3 separate regions of the Homo sapiens genome follow, and regions 2 and 3 are each linked to region 1. Evidence: promoter capture Hi-C in human tissues and cell types (Jung and others, 2019). All regions are on one chromosome and are shown on one strand. Each heading gives the region's core, a stretch centred on a gene start or on the middle of the fragment in contact. The rest is flanking DNA. Distances are from core to core; before and after follow the strand shown.

Evidence for each region. Contacts are between HindIII fragments. The study calls those that stand out against the background at their distance.
Region 2: a fragment that was not itself captured here is called in contact with the fragment with the promoter of F2 in region 1 in 3 of the 25 tissues and cell types used here (aorta, hippocampus and spleen).
Region 3: a fragment that was not itself captured here is called in contact with the fragment with the promoter of F2 in region 1 in 1 of the 25 tissues and cell types used here (dorsolateral prefrontal cortex).

What each region holds. Positions count from the first base shown.
Region 1 is chr11:46,717,338-46,721,151 of GRCh38, reverse strand. It overlaps F2 (coagulation factor II, thrombin), which reads right to left and starts at 1,939. Exons shown (of 14, transcript NM_000506.5): 1 at 1,838-1,939; 2 at 1,290-1,450; 3 at 605-629; 4 at 312-362. The coding sequence starts at 1,916. The HindIII fragment of the contact is 9,646 bases long and covers 1-3,814 here.
Region 2 is chr11:47,118,782-47,122,595 of GRCh38, reverse strand. The region is part of intron 3 of CSTPP1 (centriolar satellite-associated tubulin polyglutamylase complex regulator 1); the gene reads right to left. Among named protein-coding and RNA genes, the nearest start is that of ARFGAP2, 56 kb to the left of the region's middle. The HindIII fragment of the contact is 3,678 bases long and covers 379-3,814 here.
Region 3 is chr11:46,997,035-47,000,848 of GRCh38, reverse strand. The region is part of intron 2 of CSTPP1 (centriolar satellite-associated tubulin polyglutamylase complex regulator 1); the gene reads right to left. It overlaps LOC124902670 (a long non-coding RNA gene), which reads right to left and starts at 1,873. Exons shown (of 2, transcript XR_007062665.1): 1 at 1-1,873. The HindIII fragment of the contact is 3,277 bases long and covers 486-3,762 here.

The DNA.
Region 1 (3,814 bases), core at 690-3,189:
AATTGCTTGAACCCGGGAGGCGGAGTTTACAGTGAGCCAAGATCGTGCCACTGCACTCCAGCCTGGGCAACAGAGCGAGACTCTGTCTCAAAAAAAAAAACATTAATTCATTAGTCCATTCATTCATTCATTCGTTCGCATGCCAGACACAGAGCCAGGTACAAAGAGACATCTTGACCCCAGGAATGGGAGCAATGTCAGATGCTGGGGACTGCCTCGGCCTCCACCAGCCACACTCCAAACCCACCCCTGAGCTCTTCTCCCAGGCTCCCCTCCATGTCCTGCTCCCCAAACCCGTGTCAGTTGCTCACCTTCCAGACATGCAGCAAGCTTATCTCGAGGCGTCCTCGCTGTCTCACAAGCTGGAAAAGACCCAGGTGTTTACCTTTGGGATTGGGGTATGGCCAGGATGAGCTGGAGTCAGGGTGGATGGGATGTTGGTGAGAAACAGAAAGATGGATGAACAGATGGGAGGGACCAAGGAAGGAGTGGGGAAGGGGTGGATGGGTGGATGGCTAGGTGCAGCAGAAGATTCTCTGGGTAGAATTCTCTCACTGGGGTCCCCAGGCCTCCCTTCCTGGGGCAAATCCTTCCCGGTGCTCACCTGTGTACTTGGCCCAGAACACATCCTGAAAAACAAGGGCTGGGAGTGAGGCTACGGCAGCTCCTGTTTTGTGTTGTTTTAGTAAATGTTATGTCTCCTCCTCACACTTTCCTTTACCCTGGTCACGCAGGGGGCAGGCTCTGGGGAGGTTTGTGGCAGAGTTTCCTACTTTTGTTTCCAAAAGGAGAAGAATATTTGAGGATAGGGGAGTTCCTCCAACACACACACCGAGACTGAAAGAGGCTGGGGGAGATGGGAGGAGAGGGGGCAGTGGGACCCTGGCAGAGCCCTACAGACAGGAAAGGCGACACAGAGCTCCAGGAACACTGAGTCTTGAGCCCGGGGGCTTGTGGTGGCCTCCCCAGAGTCCCACCCCTCAAGGGTGGTGTGGGAGTCTGCCGCTGAGGAGGCCATGTGGACACAGAGCTCCAGGGCAGGTGGATGTCTGAAGACTGTGGAGGCCTCCCCATGTCATGGAGCTGCACAGGGACACAGTCCAGGCACAGAGACCCCCAGGAAAGGCTGAGGCCGCTCCTCTTGCCAGCCCTGTGAGGAGGGGCTCAGAGTTGAAATGAGGCTGTGAGCAGCGAAGGGGCTGTGGCGTTCCTCGCTTGCTTCTCTGTGGAAGTGTCTAGAGTTGGGCCCGGTCTGAGGCCCCGGCACCGTCCGAGCAGCCCAGGCTCACCGTAGCCGTGGAGGACTCCAGAGCCTCGAAGGCCTCCTCGTAGCTGCACGTCTCCTCCACGCACTCTCGCTCCAGGTTGCCCTTGCGCACCTCCTCCAAGAAGGTGTTGGCTCGCCGGACCCGCTGGAGCAGCGACCGTGCTTGCTGAGGAGCCAGGAACACTGTAAGGCGGTGGGGGGGTCATGGGACAGCGGCCTCAGGAACAGGCAGTCTTGGCCATTCTGGGGGCATGAAGCAAGCCCACCCTCCCCTGCTGGCTTCTGAGAGAGGCTGTCTGGGCTGGTGGAAGTGCCTGGAAGGCTGCTAAATGTGGCCCCCTGTGCCCCTCCTACACTGCCCCTTGCCCCCAGCCTGCTCCCTATATTGGAAGAGAGAAGCAGCCATTCTCTTTCCAGCCCTGAGCTCCTGACTTCTTCCCTAAGCTGGCCGCCTGGGGCTGAGACCTACTTAGGGGCCAGCTCTGTGTGCTCTGTCCAGCCAGGAGACCCCAGCCCATGGGCCCACACCCCAGTCCTCCAGCCTGTTCCAGCCTGCAAGCACTCCCTTACCATGCTGGCTGTGCACAAGGCTACACAGGGCAGCCAGGGCCAGGCAGCCAGGCAGCTGCAAGCCTCGGACGTGCGCCATAGTGTGTCAGCTCCTGGGTCACTGAGGAATTGTCTGTCCTGACCCCTCTGGGTTAATGTTGAACTAACATGAAGAAATCAGCGGAGAGGGTGAGGTCAGAGGGTCAGGGCCGTGGGGACGGGTGGGTAGATAGTCCTCCTGTCCATCTCCACCATCTGGGAGGACAGGTCCTCCTGGGAGCAGGGATGGATGGTCTAGGAGGAGTCACAAAAAAGGTCACTGTCACCCCCATCTCCCACCCTCCCCCTCTGAGATTTAGCCCATTCTGGCCAGTGGGGCTATGAGACTTTCCTGGAGCTCCTTCGAATCCTAACATATAGCGGTGGTTGCTTGTCATCTCTGTGTGCCTCAGTTTCCTCATCTATACAATGGGAATAATACTTTGTTGTGAGGACTAAAGGAGATTAGGAATGGAATGTCCATGGAATATCGTAAGTTCTTAATCAGATCTGCACATATAGGCCAATGTGGGGGTTTGTATAATCATAATACACAGATATCAAAAATAGAGACAAAGATAAAAGGTGTGGCCTGATGGAAGTTGCCCCTCGCCATGGGATGCACCAGGGATAGGAACAGCCAACATTTGCCCCAGCTTCTCAGCCACTGGAGGAGGGGCCCATTTCTCCTCCTTCCTGTCCAGGGTGCCTGGAGGTGTGTTTGTGTGTGGCAGCTGCCTGGGAGGAGTCAGGTCCAGGGACTCTTGGGCCTTTAGTCTATCTTCTGTCACCTCCCAGGACCTGCGCCTGTCCCGGAACAGGGGCTACTGAAATCCCTGGGTCTCCACTGAGGGGCCCTCCTTCTCCCTGGCTGCCTGCCCCATGGCAGGCCTAGAGAGGCTTCTGGTCCTACCCTACCCTCCGCCCTACTCCTGTCCCTCCCCCATTTCCTGTTTGCAGTACCCAAGGCAAATATTAGTCTAAGTAGGACAGAGGGACAAAGAGCAGGAACACGGGGAGGCACAAGTTCTCGCCTCGCCTCACCTGTCCTTTGGGCCTGGCTGTTTGGGGTCTGGACCAGGTCATGTGTGGGAACAGGGAGTGTTGGCAGAAAAACTGGGGACCAGGACTCCCGCAAACACCTTAATTCCTGGGAGGCCCATTTCTTATATATTTTCATATATATATTTTTAGGCCAGGCATAGTGGCTCACACTTGTAATCCCAACACTTTGGGAGGCCGACATGGCAGGATCGCTTGAGGCCAGGAGTTTGAGACCAGCCTGGGCAACATAGCAAGACCCTCATCTCTACCAAAAAAAAATTAAAAATTAGCTGGGAATGGTGGTGCATGCCTGCAGTCTGAGCTACTGAGGAGGCTGAGGCAGGAGGATCACTTGAGCCCAGGAGTTCCAGGCTGCAGTGAGCTATGATTGCACCACTGTACTCCAGCCTGGGTAACAGAGTAAGATCCTGTTTCTTTCTTTCTTTCTTTCTTTCTTTTTTTTTTTTTTTTTTGAGACGGAGTCTCGCCCTGTCACCCAGGCTGGAGTGCAGTGGAACAATCTCGGCTCACTGCAATTTCCATCTCCCTGTTCAAGTGATTCTCCTGACTCAGTATCCCAAGTAGCTGGAATTACAGGCGTGTGCCACCACACCTGGCTAATTTTTGTATTTTTAGTAGAGATGGGGTTTCGCCACATTGACCAGGATGGTCTCGAACTCCTGACCTCAGGTGATCCGCCCACCTCCACCTCGGCCTCCCAAGTGCTGGGATTACAGGCGTGAGCCACCATGCCTGGCCTGAATGAGACCTGTTCCTAGAAAAATAAAATAAAATAAAATAAAATTGAATAAATAAAATAAAATTATAATATATATTTTGGGTTTTTGTTGTTTTGTTTTTGAGATGGAGGCTGGAGTGCAATAGCGTGAACTCGGCTCACTGCAACCTCTACCT
Region 2 (3,814 bases), core at 968-3,467, 400 kb before region 1:
AAATAAAAAATAAAAAAGAATTATTTAAGAAGATTTATTTTTTAAAAAGCCATTTTGATTTATGGTATATAAATTGTATCTTAACAAAGCTGTGGAAGGAAGGATGGCAGGCCGGCAGGCAGGAAACCATCCACAGAGATGGTCAAGTATGTATCTTCCTTCAGAAACCTGTTTCCATGTCCCTCGTTCTCAGTGGCTCTTTCTTCCCCCTCTAAGTCACCTGAATGCCATTTAGTTCCTTCCCTACACCTTGTTTCATCCATGATGAAAAGATCATCATCTTTTATAATTCTATGTTTTTGGATCTTATTATAATGCCCCTTGGTCCTCCCTTATAGAGATGTTCAGGCTCACTGATGGCATACTAAGGTTATAAACCCCTTCAAATGAGGGCAGGAGTGACAGGAAAAACATCTATCAAAATAAGGGCATAGAACTGAATAGTTACAATATCCTCCATAGATCTCATTTTTCTAATATATATATATATATATATATATATATTTTTTTTTTTTTTTTTTTTTTTGAGACAGGGTCTTGCTCTGTTGTCAGGCTAGAGTACAGTGGTGTGATCATAGCTTATTGCACCCTCGAATTCCTGGGCTGAAGTGATCCTTCTGCTTCAGTCTCCAGAGTAGCTGAGAGTACAAGCACATATCACTATGCTCAGCAATTTTTTTTTTGTAGGGATGTCACTGTGTTTACTATGTTGCCCAGGCTGGTTTCAAACTCCTGGGCTCATGCAATCCTCCCAAAGTGTTGGGATTATAGGCATTAGCCATCGTGCTGGGCCATTTTTCTAATCTTTAACCATATTTATTGATAGTTTTCCTTCCTTTCTACAGCCTAAGATGATTGTTTCCTCCTGGGAACAGTGTGGCAGAGCGGAAGGGCAGGCTTGGGAGACTTGAAACTCTGCCTTGACTTTGCCAGACTACCTCACTTGAACAAGCTACTTACACTTAGGGATCAATTTCTTTGTCTGTAAAAAAGAGATAATAATCAATTGCTATTTACTTGAGAGTAAAAGGCCAGACCTATGAGCCCATGATTCCCAAGGCTCTTTTAAGTTGTGAAGTCATAGATTGGATCAACTTCCAAAGCTGAGAATAATGGAATTTTTTTTCAGGTATCTGTACCTTACACAGTAATATCTAGTCAATTTAAAACTTAACTAATAGGCAATGCCAAATATCTAAATGTCAATAAGTCTCCAAGTAGGCAAGAAGATTTCATGAAGTCCACATACAAAAGCTCGTGTGGCTAACTTACAGGGTTCCAAGACATACTCTGATTATACTCGCAGTTTTAACAAGCTTGGCCACTAGTTTCTAAGCCCAATACAGATTAGACAGGGTAAACAAGGAGAGGAAAAAGAACTATAATTAGGCATTAACTACATGACCTAACAGAGAGGCAGAAAAATATATTTTAAATATAATCTGGATACATTTAGGGTACATTTCAGTGGGTCCTGAAGGCAATGATCTTTTCCAGCAGAGTAAAATAATTTATGATGACAAAGATGATGCTTAGATGCCTAGAGGAGTTAAATTACATAAGATGGCAGGGAAGGCCACTGTATACGTATCATATACATTTTAAAAAGATTTCCATGTAAGTTATATTAAAAACAACAAAAAATGTAACCAAATTTAAACTATAAAATAGTAGGCTGTAAAACTGTAAAACTCTTCTGCGTCTTTGGATGTTTACTGTCTCTAAACCATTTATTGATCACTGCTTCTGTAGTGCTTCATGGTGTTACCTGTTTTTAAGCTGCTGTACTGAGTGCTGTGCATCATTACTCTCATTGAATGTCTCGCAGCAGTCCTATAGGGTAAGTACTGTCCTCATTTTACTTGCAGACACAGGGCAGTGAAGTAATTTGCCCAGTTACGTAACTAGCAAGAGGCAAGCACATTCGAGCTTTGAATCATGGATCTGCCAGATTCCAAAGCGCATGCTTTTACATATTCCACTATTTATTGGTGGTTGAATTATTGATTTATTTGTCTATCTGACCCATCACCACCCCATCATTGTTCTCAGCATTGGAAGTTAGTCCACCCTGTGACTTCACAACTTAAAAGAGCCTTGGGAATCACAGGATCATAGATCAGGCCTTTTGCTCTGAAGTAAGTAATTGACTATCTCCATTTTACAGATAGAGAAACTAAGGCTTAAAGAGTAAGTGGCTTGCTCAAGTGAGGTAGTCTGACAGAGTCAAGGCAGGGTTCCAAGGTCCCATTAGACCAAGTCTTGAGGGTAGGGACTCCATCTCACTTGCTTATACATATCAAGGGGACTGGCACACAGTACACAGTTAAAAAAACGTTCAATGAATTTTATCCCTATGCCTCCCTATACAGATGTGAAACCCTAAAAGCAATGTAGTATATCTCAATGCATCTCAACATATGATCATGAATCACCTGTACCCTAAACCCACAGAAGCAAAATCAGAATCCCTGGGGTCAAGAGAGTGAGAATCCACATTTAATTAAATAGCTCAGGTGACTCTTAGGATTGTCCTCATGGTTGAAAGCACATTTTTTGGAGTTAGTCAATCCTGGGTTCTGGGTTCATAGCTCAGCTCCACTGGTTACTAGACAAATGATCTGGGGCAAGTTAGTTACTTAAATTTTTTGAGCTTCAATTCCATCATCATTAAGATGGGGATAAGGCCGGGCATGGTGGCTCACGCCTGTAATCCCAGCACTTTGGGAAGCCAAGGTGGGCAGATCATCTGAGGTCAGGAGTTCGAGACCAGCCTGACCAACGTGGAGAAACCCTGTCTCTACTAAAAATACAAAATTAGCTGGGCGTGGTGGTGCATGCCTGTAATCCCAGCTACTCGGGAGGCTGAGGCAGGAGAATTGCTTGAACCCGGGAGGTGGAGGTTGTGGTGAGCCGAGCTCGCACCATTGCACTCCAGCCTGGGCAACAAGAGTGAAACTCCATCTCAAAAAAAAAAAAAAAAAAAAAAAAAAGAAGTGGGCAGTGTTCCAAGATGGCTGAATAGGAACAGCTCCGTTCTGTAGCTCCCAGCATGACCTATGCCGAAGATGGGTGATTTCTGCATTTCCAACTGAGGTACCTGGTTCATCTCACTGGGACTCATTGGACAGTGGGTGCAGCCCATGGAGGGCGAGCTGAAGCAGGGTGGGGCGTCGCCTCACCCAGGAAGCACAAGGGGTCGGGGAGTTCCCTTTCCTAGCCAAGGGGAGCCGTGACAGACTACCTGGAAAAACGGGACACTCTCCGCCCAAATACTGTGCTTTTCCCAAGGTCTTAGCAACTGGCAGACAAGGTGATTCTCTCCTGTGCCAAGCTTGGCAGGTCCCACGCCCACAGAACCTTGCTCACTGCTAGCGCAGCAGTCTGAGATTGATCTGCGAGGCGGCAGCCTGGCTGGGGGAGGGGCATCTGCCTTTGGTGAGGCTTGAGTAGGTAAACAGAGCGGCTGGGAAGCTCAAACTGGGCGGAGCCCACCGCAGCTCTACAAGGCCTACTGCCTCTAACTCCACCTCTGTGGGCAGGGCATAGCTGAACAAAAGGCAGCAGACAACTTCTGCAGACTTAAACGTCCCTGTCTGACAGCTCTGAGGAGAGCAGTGGTTCTCCCAGCACAGCGTTTGAGCTCTGAGAAAGGACAGACTGCCTCCTCAAGTGGATCCCTGACTCCCATGAAGCCTAATTGGGAGACACCTCCCAGTAGGGGCCGACAGACACCTCATATATAGGTGGCTGCCCTCTGGGACGAAGCTTCCAGAGGAAGGATCAGGCAGCAATATTTGCTGTTCTGCAGCCT
Region 3 (3,814 bases), core at 875-3,374, 280 kb before region 1:
TGCTTAGAACAGTGCCTAGCACACAGTGCTTATTAACTATTAGCTATTCTCATCCCCATCAGTTTGCTTGTTTATTGATTATTACCCTCATTAAAACACTAGGTTCATAAAGATAGGTACCTTATTTGTCTTGCTCACTGCTCTATTCCCATTGCATAGTACACACAGGCACAGAGTAGGTGCCCAAAAGTAATTTGTGAATGAATAATTCACAAATGAATGCTGCATATTCTCACGTATCCTTAAAATAAACCAAAGGTAGTCTGTGTACTTCTTTCCCTTGCAACCAAAACAGTCATCATAAAAACTTCACCAAAAAACTAAAATCATCCTTTAAAAAACGAAAACAAGACACTTGATCATAAAAGCGAGCTCTCCTGGGCCCACCAACCAAGACCACAGAATATTATTCTTTTCTATATTAGTATGTGGAAGTCAAGCTCCCTGATGCCATAGTGTTGGAACTATCAATTTAGCCTGTGAAGAATGGTTCCCAATTCTGATACAAATTCTCAGATTTCATCCTGTTTTTCTCTCATCATTATTTTCCAATGTCTCAAAAAGCCACATTTCTCATTTTATCTTTACCACAAGAATCTGGTCACACTCTGCTGTGGTTTCTAAGTTAGAGCTACTCTCGCCCATTTTCTTGGATGTATTTCTTCAGAGGTCCTGACCCAGTGCTGACATTTGGCCTATTCTTAGAGTAGCACCTCTAAATATTAATTTCTTTTACCTTCCACTGGTTGAAGGACAACATTCAGAGGTAGAGGTTACATACAACATAAAAGAAAATCCTCTGGGATTTAGTATCCGTCTTTCAAGAGTGTCCAGAGGAATATGATCTACAGAGCTCATGGTCTTGCAGACATACACAAAGTACTGTTCAGCCACTTGTGTTTTACAGTTTATCCAGATTTGCTGGAACAGTCATGGACTTGTTTGAAAACACCAACAACCAAGGAGTGACAGACAGCATAGGTGAGAGGGCAAGCAGACCCAGAGAAGAAAATCAGAAGAGAAGCCTTCCAAATACAATTTCAAGGAGTACTTTTATCACTGTTTAAAGGTAAATCACCCACGGCTAAATATATGAAAGTCTCAAGATGTGAACTCGAAACTGTAAGATGGAAGGATACCGTTAACATATTTTTGAAAATCATGCTTCCTGCTCTTTATAGTCAGCTCTAGTTGCATCCCCCAAAAGGCCATATTAAACATTTAAATGGCAGTAAACTGAGGTCACCAGCTAAGGCTGTGTGATAAGCTTGCAAAGTATAGTTCATAAGGGAGAATTCAAAAATAGTAGAAATTATAGCTAGAAGAAACCTCCAAATATGATCTGGTTAGCCCTCTAGCAACATTAAGCAGTAAAGTGGCTTGGAGGCAGTAGAGAACAGTGGACTCTATAATACTGCAGATGAGGCTTGATTCCTGAGTCTGTCACTTAACAGCTTGTGAACTTGAAGAAGCTATTTTAATCTTTCTGAGCATCCACTTCCTCCTCTATAAAACAGAGATAACAATAATAATAGTACCCATCTCAAAGAATTGTAGTAGCTGAGACATGGTATTAGTTTAGTAAAAACTGCATATTATAATATATAATTATTATATTATTATTATTATCATGTAAGGCTTTATTAAACCCACTTCATAGATGAGGCAACTGAAGCCCATATTTCAGAAATTTGCCCAGGGTTATAGAGTGAGGACTTAGAAGAATAAGCAGCTCTTTTTCCTTCTAGGGTAGTGCTCTTTCCACTTCACTATGTTTCTCTTATTAATCAATACAAAACTGAAGCCTGAGGCCAGGCGCGGTGGCTCACACCTGTAATCCCAGCACTTTGGAAGGCCGAGGCAGGCGGATCACAAGGTCAGGAAATCGAGACCATCCTGGCTAACACGGTGAAGCCCCCTCTCTACTAAAAATACAAAAAACAAAAATTAGCCGGGCATGTGGCGGGCACCTGTAGTCCCAGATACTCGGGAGGCTGAGGCGGGAGAATGTCGTGAACCTGAGAGGCGGAGCTTGCGGTGAGCCGAGATCGCGCCACTGCACCCCAGCCTGGGCGACAGAGCAAGACTCCATCTCAAAAAACAAAAAAAAACAAAACAAAAAAACTGAAGCCTGAAAGTGAAGGATTTTCACTAACTAAATCAAATTCACAAAGTAAACTCAGGAGCTTCCATCATCCAGGTCTCCTTGTCTACCAAATTATACTTACACTATTTCCCATTCTGTCATACATCCACACCTTTCAGGTCTTCAAAAAAAAAGAAAACCCAAAAGTTTCTGGAGCTGGTTTACTTTTCACTTCTTAGAATAATTTACCTCAAGCCAATCTGGTGTCATAGACTTATGGAAGTGTCAGGTATGTGTCACTCGTATATTATGTAAATTTCAGCTTTCTGGGGACAAGAAACAGCCTGCTTGGCAAGTACATTTCTATCAGCACTGTAGAAAATCTTACGATTTTTTTTCAACAGTGTGTTGGTAGATAAAAGCTGCCTACAGTCAGCCTTACTGTTGGTTCACTACAGCTCAGCATTGGCTACACAGAACAAGTGGAATTCACTTTTGGAGTGCAAGGCGCACAGTATACAGCTTCTAAAATGGCACAATATAGAGCTTTACCACAAAGAATCAAGAAAGGGAGGAAAAGGGGAGGTTCCAAGATGGCCGAATAGGAACAGCTCCAGTCTACAGCTCCCAGCGTGAGCGACGCAGAAGACGGGTGATTTCCGCATTTCCAACGGAGCTTTGAAGAGGGTAATGGATCTCCCAGCACGGAGTTTGAGATCTGAGAATGGAAAGACTGCCTCCTCAAGTGGGTCCCTGACCCCCGAGTAGCCTAACTGGTAAGCACCTCCCAGTAGGGGCCGACTGACACTTCATACGGCTGGGTGCCCCTCTGAGACAAAGCTTCCAGAGGAACGATCAGGCAACTACATTTGCTCCTCTGCAATATTTGCGGTTCTGCAGCCTCCGCTGGTGATACCCAGGCAAACAGGGTCTGGAGTGGACCTCCAACAAACTCCAACAGACCTGCAGCTGAGGGTCCTGTCTGTTAGAAGGAAAACTAACAAACAGAAAGGGCATCCACACCAAAACCCCATCTGTACGTCACCATCATCAAAGACCAAAGGTAGATAAAACCACAAAGATGGGGAGAAACCAGAGCAGAAAAGCTGAAAATTCTAAAAATCAGAGTGCCTTTTCTCCAAAGAAACGCAGATCCTCGCCAGCAACAGAGGAAAGCTGGACGGAGAACGACTTTGACGAGTTGAGAGAAGAAGGCTTCAGACGATAGGTAATAACAAACTTCTCCGAGCTAAAGGAGGATGTCCGAATCCATCGCAAAGAAGCTAAAAACCTTGAAAAATGATTAGACGAATGGCTAACTAGAATAACCAGTGTAGAAAAGACCTTAAATGACCTGATGGAGCTGAAAACCATGGCACAAGAACTATGTGACACACACACAAGCTTCAGTAGCCGATTTGATCAACTGGAAAAAAGGGTAAGAGTGATTGAAGATCAAATGAATGAAATGAAGCAAGAAGAGAAGTTTAGAGAAAAAAGAGTAAAAAGAAACGAACAAAGCCTCCAAGAAATATGGGACTATGTGAAAAGACCAAATCTACATCTGATTGGTGTACCTGAAAGTAATGCGGAGAACAGAACCAAGTTGGAAAACACTCTTCAGGATATTATCCAGGAGAACTTCCCCAACCTAGCGAGGAAAGCCAACATTCAAATTCAGGAAATACAGAGAACACCACAAAGATACTCCTCGAGAAGAGCAACTCC